Linked DNA regions of Homo sapiens: region 2 is linked to region 1. The links are contacts of gene promoters, found by promoter capture Hi-C in blood cells and fetal thymus (Javierre and others, 2016). All regions are on one chromosome and are shown on one strand. Each heading gives the region's core, a stretch centred on a gene start or on the middle of the fragment in contact. The rest is flanking DNA. Distances are from core to core; before and after follow the strand shown. Region 1 holds the start of MARCHF11 (membrane associated ring-CH-type finger 11). Region 2 holds the start of MARCHF11-AS1 (MARCHF11 antisense RNA 1).

Evidence for each region. Contacts are between HindIII fragments. The CHiCAGO score rates a contact against its expected background, and 5 or more counts as called.
Region 2: the fragment with the promoter of MARCHF11-AS1 here is called in contact with the fragment with the promoter of MARCHF11 in region 1 in 1 of 17 cell types (total B cells); the score reaches 5.2 in total B cells.

Annotation. Positions count from the first base shown.
Region 1 is chr5:16,177,568-16,183,042 of GRCh38, reverse strand. MARCHF11 (membrane associated ring-CH-type finger 11) reads left to right here and starts at 3,252. Exons shown (of 4, transcript NM_001102562.3): 1 at 3,252-4,004; 2 at 5,162-5,317. The coding sequence starts at 3,468. MARCHF11-DT (MARCHF11 divergent transcript) reads right to left here and starts at 2,802. Exons shown (of 2, transcript NR_149044.1): 1 at 2,603-2,802. LOC105379640 (a long non-coding RNA gene) reads left to right here and starts at 2,239. Exons shown (of 3, transcript XR_001742613.2): 1 at 2,239-2,398; 2 at 2,544-2,617; 3 at 2,964-3,098. The HindIII fragment of the contact is 7,324 bases long and covers 1-4,064 here.
Region 2 is chr5:16,126,916-16,132,390 of GRCh38, reverse strand. It overlaps MARCHF11-AS1 (MARCHF11 antisense RNA 1), which reads right to left and starts at 3,260. Exons shown (of 2, transcript XR_001742612.2): 1 at 3,097-3,260. All of the region lies in intron 2 of MARCHF11 (membrane associated ring-CH-type finger 11), which reads left to right. The HindIII fragment of the contact is 312 bases long and covers 3,006-3,317 here.

The DNA.
Region 1 (5,475 bases), core at 2,003-4,502:
TCTTGTCACCCAGGCTGGAGTGCAATGGTGCAATCTCTGCTCACTGCAAGCTCCATCTCCCAGGTTCAAGTGATTCTCCCACCTCAGCCTCCCTAGTAGCTGGGATTACAGGTGCCCACCACCACACCCGGCTGATTTTTTGTATTTTTAGTAGAGACAGGGTTTCACAATGTTGGCCCATGTTGGCCAGGATGGTCTGGAACTCCTGACCTCAGGTGATCCACCCACCTCGGCCTCTCAATGTGCTGGGATTACAGGCGTGAGCCACCGCACCTGGCCGGAAGGTGTTTTTTATGAAATGCAGAAATCTGCGTGAAGTGAGGGAGTGAGCCATAATAATTGAAGATGGGTAGAGGGGATGTACTTGGTATACAGCAAGGATGCCAGTGTAGCAGAAATGAGTAGCAAGGAGGGTAGGGTAGGCTGGTGGGGAGGGTATGGAGAGGTCTTTAGAGAGGCAGCCAGAGGCTACAATGAGGACTTGCAGAGGCTGCTAAAATTTTTGGTATTACACTAAGTGTGATGAGAAGCCATTGGCGGGTACTGAGTAGAGGGATGACATGACTAGACTTAACACCTGAATGGGATCATCCTGGCTGGTGTAGGGTGTAAGCTCAAGAATGAGAAGCAGGGAGACAGGAAGTTGTTTTGACAGTTTCGTGCATTATAATGGTGGTTTGAATTGGGTTGGTGGGGATGGAGGTGAAAAGGTGTAGTGAAATTTGGTGAATATTTTGAAAGTCCATTTGAAAGAAATTTTTGTATACTGAATGTATGATATGAAGTCAAGGATGACACTTAGGATTTTGGCTTAAACAACTAAATGAATGAACAACTGGTTTACTGGCATCATGAAGATTTGATCATCCTTTCAATATTTGCTCAAATTTGATAAACCTGCATTTCCCCTCATTCATTTTCAGTTGGCAGATGCGCCTTGCTACTGATGGCTGTCAGTGGCCACCGGCGCACTGCTCTATCTGATGTCTGTGTCTCCATCTCTCTTCCACTTGGTTGCCAGCAGCTGAGAGGAATTCATCCTTTCTGCATTCCATTATTTTATAATTTTATGACAGAGGATGTAGCCAAAGTTAGAAAGAAGGTGTTTTTCCTGGACCCACTGAAAATGCATTGGGTTAACTGAAGATCACGAGCAAGTTTCCCTTCAGGGACTGGTCAGCTTTGGAGGTCATTGAAACCGGGAAGGAATCTTACGTGGCTACCCAATTTAGCAAGCAAATGTATTTTTTTTTTTATTTTTCAGAAACAATTAACTGAGAGGACACATCTAGCCTTGTGGCCCTTTTCTCCTTTATCCATGCCGCTTCGCTGTCTGAATTATTCTACACCGTTTATACAAAACCCATAGCTTTTATGCTGTCCTTCGAGTACCGATGCACTTTATCACACCTGGTAGAAATTTACTAGTCATAAATGGAATTATTTAGGGGATTCTGTACAAATCTAGACAGTCTTTAACTCGAGAACTTATGAAGAAGGTTTATGATGATCATAAGGCTTATGATTATCTTGACTGTGGCAATACACAAACTTGCGTTGTCATTCTGACAGGTGAAGACCAAAAATGAAAGCATATCGACAACCACATTTCTTCAACGTGGTAAGTTCCTGGAGATTGTTGTTTTAAAAATGTGCTTGCTGCCTGCCACTCTGCCACCAAAAATAGCCAGTCTGAAGGGGCTAAGTGTTAGAGGACATTCCTGGAAACTAGTTCATCAGAGACCATTTGTGACAAAACATTCTTGAATTATTTTTCACTACCTTCTCTCTCTGGCAAATGGAACCAATTTCTGTCAAAAGAGGTAGGTCTTCTTTATGAATCAAATATACTTCTTACTGCCAAAACGTGAAATGGAAAAACGAACTTAAGCTAGTAGTTTATCTCAGCCATTACAGAGTATCTATTAGTGGGAATCAATGGCGCCAAACACACAATGTACTACAATACTATTTTAGGAGGCAGAAGAAAGGATTGGAAGAAAAAATTATTGGCATTTGAACCAGAAAATCTGGTCAGGGAACACAGAAGTTCTTTGTTAATAGTTCTATAACCTTGAACAAGTTATTTTGCCTTTCTGATCCTGGGTCTTCGGCTATGAAACGCTGCCAAAAATGACTGCTCTGTGTCTTTGTGTCAAAGACTGAAAGCGTCACATCAGTGAAAATTCGGATAGACACACTGCCGCATATAAATCCGGTGCTTTATGATCTCACACTGCACGGATTTGGAAACTACTGCATGTGCACGATTCTCAGCCTAGTTCCCTGCAGGTGAGGGATTTTTTTTTTTTTCCAGAAAGAAAACTGTTAGCTCTGCCCTGAAGATGAGTCCCACAGAGGTTTTGCAGGGTGGAGTTACCGAGAAATTGACTTCGGGGTGAGTAAAACTAAGATCCGGGGAAGGCTGCAGCCACTTTTCCAGGGTAAGGGGCGGTGTCATTTGCTTCCTCATGCGGCAACGACGAAAGTGATTATAAGCCACAGAACGTGGCGCCAGGGTTCACTAGTATAAACCATTTCAGGAGACGAAGCTCCGACCTCCCAGGCACCAAGATCTTTACCAACAACCCGGGATGCTCACTGCAGGAGGGAGCGGGTGAGGAGGACACAGGGATTCGAGGGCGGGACAGACAGGGAGAGGACACAGGTTCCAGAGACTTCTGTTTTAAGGCTCTCGAGGATCCCTGAGAGTGCCCTTGAGGGCTCCAAGCGCGGGGAGCGAGGGCCTGGAAGTGGCGGTTACAGTCCCGGGTCCCGCGCCCTTTCCCGCTCCACTGCTCAGCCAGTTCGGGCGCGCCCAGGGCACCCGCCTCGCGCACCCTTAAGCCCACGCGGGTCTCGGCTCAGACTGTCGCGCCCCACCCGGCCCGCGCCACATCCCACCGGCCCATCCAGTAACGGTTTCTGGACCCGCGGCCTCTCCCCTGCCCCCTACTTCCCAGCTCACGAGAGCCGCAGCGCTGCGCCGTTTGGAGAGGGGTCATCCGCCCCGGAACCGACGTGAGCGCGGGGCCGGCCCGTGGAGGCGGCTGAGGGATCCCCCACTTCCAGCCCGCCCGCTCGGAGCCGAACCCCGAACTCCGTCCCACTGATCCGCGCCCCCAGCCCACCCCGCGCCCGCGCCCCGTCACCCCCGCCGCGCCGCTCCTCCCTCCCGCCCCCTCGCTTCTCCGGCCCCCCCTTCCGCGGCGCGGCTCTCACGCGCAGCCGAATTCGGCGCCGCCTCCATCAGAGCCGAGCCGGCGGCTCCACCGAACGGCCGCGCCTGCCGCCGCCGCAGCTGCAGAACCTTCCGCATCCCCTCCCCGTCCCGCCCCCTAGCCCCAGGCGTCCGGGCCCCCTCCCTCCTTTTCCCCTCTCCCTCCCGCCCCCTCCGCGCTCTCTTTCCCTGCAGCCAGAGCCCGGCCCGCCAGCCGGGCCGGCAGGAGGGCGGCGGCGGCACAACCATGAGCTTTGAGGGCGGCCACGGCGGCAGTCGGTGTCGCGGGGCGGAGAGCGGGGACGCCGAGCCTCCCCCGCAACCTCCCCCGCCGCCGCCGCCGACGCCGCCGCCGGGAGAGCCGGCCCCGGTCCCCGCGGCCCCGCGCTACCTGCCGCCGCTGCCCGCGTCCCCCGAGACCCCCGAGCGCGCCGCGGGGCCAAGCGAGCCGCTAGGGGAGGTGGCCCCGCGGTGCAGGGGAGCGGACGAGCTGCCGCCTCCGCCCCTGCCCCTGCAGCCCGCCGGCCAGGAAGTGGCGGCGGCCGGCGACTCCGGGGAAGGTCCGAGGCGCCTCCCGGAGGCGGCAGCAGCGAAAGGCGGCCCCGGGGAGTCTGAGGCCGGCGCGGGCGGCGAGCGCGAGCGGCGGGGCGCCGGAGACCAGCCCGAGACGCGCTCGGTGTGCAGCAGCCGCAGCAGCAGCAGTGGCGGCGGCGACCAGCGCGCTGGGCACCAGCACCAGCACCACCAGCCCATCTGCAAGATCTGCTTCCAGGGCGCGGAGCAGGTAAGGCCCGGCGAGACCCCGAGGCAGCCGGTGGCGGCTCCAGCTCGCGCCGGTCAAGCTTTCAGCACCACGGACAGCGCACGCCTACCTCCCAGTTTGCCTCCAGTGAGGCTCGTCTGGTTCTGCCCTGTGAGCGCTGGCTCCAATATGCCTTCCCCTTTCCCTTCCTGTGAAGGCAAATAGAAATGTCCCAGTGGTGAATACTGGGTTTAATTTCATCTACACTTCCTTTTTCCTTCCTGGCTTAGGAGCTACATGTTCCTCAGGTGCTTTAGTGATAATGCCAAAAGCGGCTTTTGTGAATTATTCGATGGATTTTGGTTTATGCTTAGAAGCAAACCTGTCAGATGTAAGGTGAAGTCCGTTTTCTACAGATGTATCTTGAGACAGATGTCATATCACAACCAGAAAGGGCAGAGTCTTTCCTTACTGCAAATTTGGGTGACTTAATCTCACGGATGTGAAAAGCATGTGATAGTTTTTACAAGAGAAATAGGAATGGACTTTGAAAGAAAGGCTATTATGCCAACAATTTATATTTTGACAGCAACACAATTCTAAAATTATAAACACCATTGTAGGTGCATGCAAACTTATATGAGAGTAATCATGCAGAGGAAATGATAGCATATGTCCCTTACAAATGTGTGGTCTGAGAAAAGATTAGGTGTAATGTTTTTAAAAGTAAGGAAATTGCATAAGAATATACAGGCTTTCAGGAATATAGTGCCCTAAGACAATATTTATGATGCTACATTTAGAAAAAAAAGCATAATGCCGCTTTCTGGGATGCCATGCGTTTCTTCTTTAGCAATGATTAAGAATAACTGCAGAGGAAATGCATCTGACCATCCACTTAAAAGTTATTAAAGAGATTTAATAGTACAGCTTTCCCCCACGGGTATTGGGAGCTATATCTTGCAGACATTTTGTATGTTGGTAGAACATTTATGTCATAACTCTAAGCAATGTCTTTGAAATAGTTTTAAGACTTAGTTTCATTCCCATCAGAGGTATAAAATTTTAATTTCATTTCCTATGATAGAGCCTGATGCTGTATCCTGAGTAAATGGCTTTGAAAGAAAAGAAAGGAAGCATTAGGTTTTTAAAATAGAGACACAGACACAGATATTCACACTGAGCTGTTTTCTTTTTAGGGTGAGTTGTTGAACCCCTGCCGATGTGATGGGTCAGTTCGGTATACACATCAGCTGTGCCTGCTAAAATGGATCAGTGAGAGAGGTTCCTGGACCTGTGAACTTTGCTGTTATAGATACCATGTTATAGCCATTAAAATGAAACAACCTTGCCAGGTAAGCAGTTTCAACATTTATTTTTCCTGAAATAATTTTGTTAACATGAATGCACTTAAGCTTAGTTATTACTAAGGATATTTACTTATGCTACTTAAAAACATTTTGTGAAAATTACACTAAAACCAAGATTTAGAATTTGTAAACATGTGTTTTTG
Region 2 (5,475 bases), core at 2,011-4,510, 51 kb after region 1:
CTAGACCAAAAAGAGTGGAACCCTGGCACAGGTACTAAGTCGGACTGTTGGGACCCACCTGGCTGGCCTGAAGGTTGATGAGATCAGACGAAAAGGAACATAGCCAGCTGGCCACTCATCACACCGTGTCCCTTCTCCTTCTCAGCTGTATACTTATTTCCTCTTATTGTTGCTCTTAGGCCATTTAAACACCTGGAGAATATCTAATTTGGTACTTGGCTCTGAACATGGCAGTAAACCTGTTTATAGTCTTATACACATCCTGCATCCCCCTGCACCATCTGGTCAGTCTCCACAGTCACAGTTGGTAGATGCTCTGAGCCCTTGCCATGGGGCTCTGGATCAGGGATGAAATGAATCCCCCGTAGCCAGTCTCTGAACGGCACTCATGGATTGCAGTCAGTGGCTTCTTCACTGCTTTCCTTTTTCGTTCTTTCTACGTTAGTGAACTTTACTTTACCACAGAGCACCTGCTACTTAATTATTGTGTCTCCCTTTAAATGATGCCACATCACCACTACTTAATATCTGACACCAGACACCAGCAAAAGTTAGAACTGAGTAGGTATTTAGAAAAACAAAAGGACATATGGTCCAGTTCTTAAGCACGAAGTAGTGATCTTTCCATTTAAGCTGTCCATCATGAAATGGCAATGTTCCCAGAATGTTTGAGCTGAAATGGATCTGGGAGACCACCAAGTTCAACTTCGTCATTGTATCAGAGGAAACCGAATCCCAGAGGGGCTGAGCGGCTCATTTATGATTCCAGAGTTGGTCATTGAAAGACAGGTCTCATACCCAGGTCTCTTAAATCCTCTGCCTTTTTCTTCACCACTCCCACCCCCGACCAGTTCTTCTCATTGCTTTGCTGATAACATTACATTTTGTTTTAGATTGCATTTTTTCTTTCCTTTCTAATACCAAGGTCCACATGTTTTTCACCCTTCTTTTAGTATAATTACACATTTGTATATTTATTCTAGTTCAAAATGGATTGAATATGTTTCCATAATTGATTTCTTGTTGTCTAGAAAATTACAGATAACAAACTAGTTTATTAGGTAATTGTTTTCTACTCCCATTTCTCCATAGAAGGTAATTCAAAGGGGATTATGTGACTGCTTACTGAACCAAACTGCATTGCTGCATGTTACTTCTTCATGATGGTTATTTGCTTTCTTCCTTAAACATTAATTAGGAGTCATTGCCATCAGAACCAGAATTTTGAACTTGTTTAAGGAATTACTTTGAACTGTTATAGCACTTTCCTTAATATTACATGTTGATTTGTGTTAATTTACCTTTCCCTTCTATCTATTATTCAGGCTATCCTCTGCTGATTGAAATATTCAAGGTACTGCTGGCTTTCACATGTATATTTAAAGGCACGTGTAAATATTCAACATTATCTTATCAACTTAAAATGAAGAAGATATCAGATCATATTTGCCTGTTAAATTAACAGGAGCCTTCAGGCATATGCATTAAAATAATTTGTGTCAGATACAAAAAGAGTTAGAAGGTGAACTAATTTCAATGAGAATGGAAAATGTGATGTCTAGTAAAAATTACATAAACATATTTGGGGTTAGACCGTCAGTTCATGGTTTGATCCCTGGCAGTAGTGCTAAGATTAACCTGTGATGGCATTTGTCTTCTACCCCAAAAATGACAATACAAATTAGAAGTGTACCTTGAGCATTCCTGACTCCATTCAATGACACTTCTGGGTTGTTTACACTGATAAAATTGCTATTTTTGTTTGTCCTTTTATGTCTGCTCCTTTCATGTATGCCATCACCAAGAGAATTTTTACCAGAACCAAGAAGTTTTCTTTTCCAAGAACAGTTTATCCTCTCTATTTAGTAGCACCCTGCAGTAATTATATTCTGTAACTGCCCAGCCAGAATCTTTACAGAAGTGCACAAAACAACAAAACTATATTCATAATGCCCACATATCACCAGCACATTTTAAATCACAATTTCACAATTATTTAGCTTAGCAAATGTGTTCAAGTTAAGGATCTGAATCTTATCGAAGTGCTCATAACCTTTATTGGCTAGTAAGACAGAGTAAAGGTTAACAAAAAAGATGAACACATCTTTTGTGTGTGTGTGTGTGTGTGTGTGTGTGTGTATGTACCTGGAATTTACGGTCTTTTAATCAGTACAAGAGTTACTATGAATTGTTAGCTGAGAAGTGGACCAAATTTCCAAAATGAATCAGGATATAATTATTAAATATGTTAAAATGAGATTTTACCTGTATTTACCCAACGAAGTTAGACAGAAGGTTAGTGGCAATAAATAATTATCTCTCATTTCTCTGTAATTGTTAAAATAATTTGCATCTATTGATTTTCTTGAAAATGTTATCTTGAAATGTTAAAAATGGAAGAGATGGTAACTTTATCAATTTCAGATTTCATAGCATAAATTTGACTCCTTCCTCGTTTTAAAATTTTTTATTTATGTTTTTTGACACTGATCTCATTGATAGGCTTTCCTCGCTCTGGTAACATATCTCTAGTGCCACTTAAGATAAAAGTAAGTTGGTCCAGATGTCATAAAATGATTTCAAACAAAAGAATTTTGTAACTTATTGGAATAAATGTCAATTGGAAATCACTATGTCTTCTTGAAATACCTGAAAACAAACTCAAGAAGGGTATTGCAAATATCTTATTCCATCCTACAGTTAATTTTTACAAAGCCTTTTTAGAGTTGCTAAAACTCAATGTAGAAATAAAATATCGCTGAGCCAACAAGTTGTTTGAAATATAATTTACTTAAGGCATAATAAGAATATAAAATAACTCTAAAATAAATATTATGTGAACATCTTTAAGTTAAATTAAATTTGGCATAGCTAATTCAATATAAAACAATTGACTTAACAATAAAGAATTTGTTCCCATTGTAATGATTATTTTAAAAATGGTTTATTTTAATATACTGCTTGATAGAAAGAAATGAAAGACACGCTTTATTCTGGGAAAAGCTTTCCTGAGCAATGCCAATATAACCAAACAAACACTGCTAATCATGAGAAGATGACAGAAAACATTTCCAGCCATTCTACAATCTTACATACCTGTAAATATCTTTGGACGGTCCCAACTGACAATGTTAAATTTGTAAGACACCCGACTCCAGAGATGAAAGCAATATTGTGCCAAGATATACAGCAGAGTGTCAGCTTATGTCAGTTTCATGCAAATGGCATGAACTACAGTGAACGATGTGTAAGTTCTGATTGCCACGTAGAAGGACTGAACGATGCTGTTAAAATTAGAGCCACTCAAGCAGTAAGCTTGTCTTCTGACCAACCCTCACTAATCAAGGGTTAGTGGGACTTCTTTGCATAAAAATATAAATGTTGAAAAGGATGTGGCCATATGTGCAAAATAAAAGACAGTTTTGAACATGGAAATAAGTACAACAGGGCAGAATAAGTAAATGTCTAAGGCTTAAATATTCGTCTACAATTGATGGTTTATGAATTACTGGCATGAACAGATGGCCAAGCTTGCTCACATTTTTCTTCTAAATTTTTGAATATTGAATACATTTTATTATGGACTTTGAATGACACATTTGAAATGGTGTTGTCACACACACATGCATACACACACACAAACAGTCAAGTTTGGCATATAAACAGTGAACTAAAATCCACTCCAAAGAGGTTATTTCTTTTGTTAAGACACTTTCTATGTTCAATGATTTTTCCCATAGCAGCTTCTTCTAAAAAGGATTATTTCTCAGGTCACACCAGCTTAGAATCACGTAAGTGGTAATGAAGAACGTTAAATTCTATTTCCCTGGTTCTTGCCCGTCCTTCTTTTAGTGGGACCCTGATCAACTTTAAACCCTTCCCCATCTATTTCTGGGTATCCCTAGGGGTTATCTCAGTGGCTTTGGGCATACCTTGGCAGTTGATAGCTCCTCAGCAACTTGCAAAGCTGTGCACAAGTACCCAGCCACATTTTTGTGCCTGCATTTGAACTGCTTGCAGACAAACGTGATCCCTGCTGGGTCCTTTTACCTCCAGAGATATGAGTGTTATTCCGTCACTCACAGGTGCCAGTGTGTGTCTGGGAGCCTTCAAATAGCCAAGCTGCACTGAGCCTTGAGTCAGAGTAGGGAGGATATCTGCCTTTTCTTGTTTGGTGGTGCTTCACCAGATAAATAGTGCTACCTTGTGTTGTGAAATTTCAATAAAAATACAGGTAGCCTGCATCAGCCCTGATAGGAAGCAGATGGAACCCTCAGCAGGTTTCGTGGGTGGTATGAGTAGGGTTAGAAGCAGCAGCAAGAGATGGCAGGCACTCAGGGACTGCACTAGCACCTGGGAGGGGCAGGCACAGAGTTCCTGGAGGCTGTAGCTGTGAAAGAGGGGATGAGCAGCATGTAGGAGAATGTAGCCATTGCCAAGTTCATGGCCAGAAAGGGAAAAAGCAAGTGGAGCAGCTACCCTGACTTCACTCCACTTCCTCCGTGTGATAGTCTAAAATCTTCTCCATTGACCCCGTTCAACCAGAAGCCAGAGGGGCGGGCAGATCCTGTGATTGAGAACAAAGCAGAGAAAGACAGACGAGGTCTGGAGGCCTAATCAAGAGTATTTGGCACATCTCTTCTCCCCTCTTCTCTCCTACAACATACTAGGCATGTGCCTTAGGAGCTGGGTTGGAGTAGAAATCTTCAAAGCAGATGCCTCACTACAGTTAGGACGGTCCCTCCCTGCTGGGGAACAATGGCAGATTGTAATTGTGGTCCTTGATTCCTTATCCAGAAGTTATTTGAAGCTACAAATAAACTTCTACTGTGTTGACCCAGGCGGTTCACCAGATCTCTTCAGATATGCCTTGTTAGGTGTTGATTTGGGGGCAAATCTCAAAGTCTCACTGGCTTAATCCAGTAAAAAGTTCCGTTTGCTCACATTCAAGCTCCGTATGAGTCAAGGTCTTCCTCCCTCTTGTAGATATCCCCCCTGGAACTTGGGGCCTCCAAGGTCACCACGAGGGAGAGGATCACATAAGATGTTTTTTATGGCCTGCCCTTGTGTGACCGACATCTGGTCACTTACATCTGACTGACCACTTAGTCACGTTGCACCAACCTGACTGCAGGAAAAGGCAGGATGTTTGATGAGCATTGGCAGTCCCTGTTCTGTGCCTGAAACTCAGCAATGACTATAACGTCTAGTAAGCCTGGCCTCCTTAACACATGCTAGTTGAGTATTCAACCTCTGTGACTGCACATATCCATTAAGTCCTGTTGTCCACCTAACCCTGTGAAACTTGAATAGTTTATATTACTCTAGATATGCTACTTTATCACCATAACTCATTATTTGGACGAGCCACTGGGGAGATGCCTTTTTTCTGACTGAGCTAAGGTGATGTAAGCAGGTAGATTTATGTTGTTATTAAAAATTTATGACCCCTTAAAAATATTCCCCCAATTTTTA